Regions from separate parts of the Homo sapiens genome. Here region 1 is linked to region 2. Evidence: promoter capture Hi-C in 16 types of primary human blood cells and fetal thymus (Javierre and others, 2016). All regions are on one chromosome and are shown on one strand. The core of a region is centred on a gene start or on the middle of the fragment in contact, and the rest is flanking DNA. Distances in the headings are between cores, read along the strand shown. Region 1 has its middle 22 kb from the start of PRP4K. Region 2 holds the start of BPHL (biphenyl hydrolase like).

What was found. Contacts are between HindIII fragments. The CHiCAGO score rates a contact against its expected background, and 5 or more counts as called.
Region 1: a contact is called between a fragment that was not itself captured here and the fragment with the promoter of BPHL in region 2, in 2 of 17 cell types (naive CD4 T cells and M0 macrophages). The highest score is 6.0, in naive CD4 T cells.

What each region holds. Positions count from the first base shown.
Region 1 is chr6:3,997,860-4,000,559 of GRCh38, reverse strand. No RefSeq gene overlaps it. Among named protein-coding and RNA genes, the nearest start is that of PRP4K, 22 kb to the left of the region's middle. The HindIII fragment of the contact is 4,300 bases long and covers 1-2,700 here.
Region 2 is chr6:3,117,337-3,120,036 of GRCh38, reverse strand. It overlaps BPHL (biphenyl hydrolase like), which reads right to left and starts at 1,326. Exons shown (of 7, transcript NM_004332.4): 1 at 1,190-1,326. The coding sequence starts at 1,296. It overlaps LOC107986556 (a long non-coding RNA gene), which reads left to right and starts at 1,390. Exons shown (of 4, transcript XR_001743928.3): 1 at 1,390-2,248. RefSeq lists a silencer at 1,029-1,418 and an enhancer at 1,457-2,092. The HindIII fragment of the contact is 8,418 bases long and covers 418-2,700 here.

The DNA.
Region 1 (2,700 bases), core at 128-2,627, 880 kb before region 2:
TTATTATTTGTAATGAAAATAGGGAGAATAATTACACATTCTTGCTTTCTTTGGATCAGAGCTTCTTTACTGGTAAATACTCCCCTTTTCATATTTTTGTACCAGTCATCATAATTTCAAAAATAGTATAATACTGTATTCTAAGCATAACATTTTAACTTGTGTTTATATGTGAGAAGTTTAGAAAATATAATAAGAAAAAATAAAAATCTCCCACAATCCTACTGGAGGCTATGAATCTTCTCACTCCCATCTTTTCCTGCACACATGCCAACGAACTAAAAAGGATCAGAATATGCACACTGTTATGTAATCTACCTCATTCATGTAATAATGTATCATGGATGACTCGATGCCATTACATATTAATAGACATAGTGCCTGCAGAGTATTATGTGGACACACTCAGGGCTGATGCTCTGCTAGTATCTTCAAGGCTGCTGGAATAGCCATGCTGGTTGCTAAAATATGGAAAGACTTCCATACTGGTTAGTAAATGGTGCTGCCCTGAGCCCTCTGAATGCCTTCCCACTGGACCTCCCCCCCATCACACTCCCCAGCAACTAAAGGGTTAACGCCTGTCCCATCTGGGGCCTCTAGGATCCTGCTATAGTAGTGTGGCCAGCCTGCTTTCTGATTGATCAGTGCCCATACCAATGGTTAAAATTTTGGATATCATTCTTAAATGTATCATACCACATTGTTGGTAATATTTCGTGTGCTTATTAGAAAGTATTTTTCTGTTAAATATATATATGTGTGTATATTTTTAAGTCTTCCGACAGACTTCTTTGACATGTTATGTCTTCAGGAAGCCATAGGCTCTCATGGGAAATTGGTGTCTGGAATTATCACTGCATTAATGTAATAATATATATTTACTAGAACAGTGGTTTGACATATGAAAATCTTAATTTATACACCAAGCATACTTGAATGTAGACTTTTCCTTCTCTATAGACCAGAAACCATGGCATTTATTTGGAATTGCTTGATGTCACTTTAAATTGAGACATTCAATCCATTCCTCTTTTGAATATGAAAAACTTTTTCCTTTAAGACAATAGTATTTTAGACTTCACCATCCTCCCATACTGTTCTTTTATATTTCTTCATGTTCTTTCTTCACTAATCCATTTCTAACACACCCATATAATTTTTCAGATTTTTTTCATATTTCCATTTTTAATATTCCACATTATATGGGTAATTTTTTATAATCTGGCTTTCTGCATTTGACCTCATACTAGTTACCAGCTTTTATTTTTTTTAAATAAACAGCTTTGTTGTAAGGTTCATTAAAACAAAACAAAATTTCTTTTTTTAATTGAGTTAGGGTCTCTCTCTGTCCCCCAAGCTGGAGTGCAGTGGTGCGATCTTGGCTAACTGCAACTTCCGCCTTACGAGTTCAAGCAGTTCTTTGCCTCAGCCTCCCAGGTAGCTGAAATTACAGGCACACGCTACCAAGCCTGGCTGATTTTTGTATTTTTAGTAGAGATGGGGTTTCGCCATGTTGGCCAGGCTGGTCTTGAACTCCTGAGCACAAGTGATCCACCCACTTGGGTCCCCCAAAGTGCTGGGATTACAGTCGCGCAACACCACACCTGGCTAATTTTTGTATTTTTAGTAGAGATGGGTTTTCGCCATGTTGGCCAGGCTAGTCTTGAACTCCTGAGCTCAAGTGATTCACCTGCCTTGGCCTCCCAAATTGCTGGGATCACAGGCGTGAGCCACCACACCCAGCGAAAAGAGCAAGTAATTCTTGCAAATTTTTTACCCAAACCTTTAGAATGTGTTCTTTTTTTTTTCTTTTTTTTTTTTTTTTGGTTTTGGGTTTTTTTTTTTTTTTTTTTTTGAGCATTTATGAAATGGCTGTGAACTTCTTCTAACTTCTAACTTTCCAAGTTGTCTCCTTTTGGCCCTAGGAGTAGAATTTTTCTTTAATTCTCAGCTGGTGAGATCTGTTGCCACCACAGTTCAAAATAACGATTAAGTACTGAGGCCAGCCCATGCCTGATCCTTCAGTGATGTTAGGAAGGTGAATGCTTGGCTGTTTGAAAGCCTCCTTATTGTCATTTCCAATCCATTCTCTCTGCTTCTATTCCTTTTCTCCCAAAACATTTCAGTGTTGTCAGTTCATACTCTGGAGTCTTTGGAAAAAGAGATTGTTGTCTTTTTATGAATTTGTCCAAATTTTAGTTGTTTCTGGTTAAGTTTAGACCAAGAGGGATCCATGTCCCTACAGGATTACCCCTATTTCAACCAGTAGATGAGGAATATCCAGCTTTAATTTGTCAGAGCAAAAATCCATTAATGTTTTCTCATTACTCATAAAAAAAAATCCAGCTCCTTACTGTGGCCTATAAACCTCTCCATGATTGGCCCTCCTTAATTTATCTCTTTTAGTCTTGAAGTTTCAGGCACACCTCCTTTTCTTTTATTGAAATTCTCAAAGCCAGGTACAGTGGCTCACCTGAGTTTATTCAAGGCTAATCCGTAATTAGGGAAATAAAGGTTACAGCTGCCTGTTAGTGACTCAGGTCGTATAATCACATTCCTTTAAGGCTCAAAATAACGTTCCAATAGCTTTGATTTTGAATTACTTATTTTCACAAGTTCTATAAAATTACAGAGTTCTCATCTATTTTTGTTGGCAGCTGTTTGCCTAGCAGTTGAAAGTGCTTAGCACATGATAGTATA
Region 2 (2,700 bases), core at 77-2,576:
ATATTGGTACAATCACAGTAACTTATTTCGATGCCTTTCTGCAGACAGGAAACTGGAAAAAATAATCATTTTCACTGTTAATTTATACAGCTGTAGCCATTAACATGTTTTTCCATCTATCAAAATAGCCCTGACCATCTTATAATAATTCTAAAATTAAAGGAGCTAGTCAATTGCAATATGAAATTTTAAAAGCTGGTCAGATTTGCCCTCTTTTCTCCTTCTAAATCAAGTTTTCAAACTAAAAGTTTCTATGTTGGATCAAGTACAGTTCTAAACGCTGTGTACCTATCTAGTACTGACTTTATGAAAGTAGCCCATCAACAGTCAACTGCGCACATGCACTGTGTACGTTCGTTGTATACGTGTGTTTGCATGTGTGTAGGGATGTATGTAGAGAATAAAGTAAAACAAGCTTCATGCCGCTCTATCCACATTTCTGCCCAGTATCTCTTGGGACCAAGAGTATCCATTTTCAAGACAGAAGGTCAGAAATTAATCCAGTTTTTTTGTTATTGTTTTACCTGAAATGGGGGGACAGGTGGGAGGACAAAAGAGAATAAAGCAGATTCCTGGGCATCTCCACACATGTAGATCAGATCCTCTGGGAGTGAGGCCCAGGATTCTGAATTTTCAGTTCCCAACGTGATTCTTTTGCACATTAAGGTACGAGATCAGCAAGCAAAGAGAAGACTTAGGGCTCTCGGGACCCGTGATTAAAGCCTTAGCGGTACTCAGGCTCAGGCTGATTTCTGACATAAGAGAAAGAAGAGATTATTGTCCTTATGCCCTTAGTGTGGACTCTGGACAGAGCAATGGACTAATGAGGGCGTTGGGATTCTAGTCCGTGCTCCGTCACGGGTGAGTCCATACTACAGGCAAATGTATCTCCCTGGGTCTCTCTGGTCTGCACACTGAAGGGGCTGCACTCTATAGCCCAAGCCTCCACGGCTCCAGACTCCTTGAACTGAGGCTGACCGAGGCGCATGCACGATCGAGGGGCTCGAGCACCAAGCGCGGCTGGCCCCCAGGATCGGGGTCTCGCGGCACAAAGGGCGACAGGGCAGCCAGGCCGCGCCCACGCCCCGTGCCCGCGCGCCGGGAACTCCTGCTGTCGGCACGCGCCCCTCCCGCCGCCCCTCGAGCGCGCCGATGCTGGGGATCCCCGGGGCGAGGTGGCCGCCATTACCCGAACGCGGCCGCGGGTCCGGCCCGTGGGACGTGGATCCCGGGCTTCAGCGCTGAGAGAAGCAGCCGCAGGCGCAACACGCCCCGGCCGCCCAGCACAGCCACCATGGTCACAGGTCGCGTAGCTGCCGGGAGTGCGCATGCGCTAAGACCAAGCGCGGTACCCGGCCCACTCTGCCCCGAAGCCACGCCCTCTGCTCCGCCCACCTCGCCTCTCCATCCTGCTCCGCCCTCTGCCCGCCCCGCCCCGAAGCCACGCCCTGCCGGGTGCTTTCCCATGGGCGACCGAAACTCGGCTCGTGGTTTCGCAGTCCTGGAACCGCCGGCACCCGCGTAGACCGTCCCCTCTCGGTGCTGGCTCTGGCTCCCGGGATGAGTGTCCCCGTCGGCGCTGCCCCGCCCTCGCTCGTCGCCTCAGCGACCATGGCCTTTCCAGGAGGCGAGGCCGCCAGCCATAGCGCCCTCGCTGCGTCGGCGTCCAGGCGGGACTCCGGAGTGGGCGGGGCTCCGGCTCTAGGCAGGCTGCTATGTTGGATCAAGTAAAGTTCTAAACGCTGTGCACCTATTTAGTACTGACTAGTACTAGGAAGTGTATTTGCTTTTCGGAGATGATGGGATCTAAATTTTGTTTATACCACTTCACGCCCATTAGGATGGCTACTAGCAAAACCCCCAGAAATTAGTGTTGGTGAAGATGTAGAGAAATTGAAGCCCTTGTATATTGCTGTTGGGAATGTAAAATGGTGCAGCCATGTGATGAACAATACTGCGGTTCCTCAACAAATCAGTTATATGATCCAGCATTTTCTTTTCTGGGTATATAACCCAAAAGAATTTAAAACAGGGTGTACAAGAAGAAATGTTTTTACACTCACGTTGACAGCGGCACTATTCACAATAGCCAAAAGGGTGGAGGCAATTTAAGTGTCCAAAAACAGATACATGGATAAGCAAAATGTTGTCTGTGCATGCAAGGGAACATTTTTTAGCCTGAACAAAGAACGAAATTCTGACACTTGCTACTACATGGATGAACCTGGAGGACACTATGCTGAGGGAGGTAAGCCAGTCAAAAAAAGACAAATACTGTGTGATTCCACTTATATAATAAGGTACCTAGAGGAGTCAAACTTATAGGGACAGAAAATAGAATGGGGGTTGTTGAGGGCTGGTGGAAGGGGGAATGGAAAGTTGGTGTTTCATGGGGACAGAGTTTCAGTTTGGAGAGATGAAAAAGTCCTGGGGATGGATTTTGGTGATGCCTGCATTACATTGTGAGTGTACTTACTGCCACTGAACTACACACCTAAAAGTGGTTTAAGTGGTAAGTTTTATGTATGTTTTACCACAATTAATTTTTTTTCTTTTGGCTGTATAATTGCAGCTTTATAAAGGTTATAGACATTATCTAATTGAAAGCTCAGTGGAGAAAAAAAACAACTATTGCTTTTTAAGTCAATCGTTCTGCCTTAATTGGAAATAACTGGCAGATTTGTGGCTACTGTTGTAGCC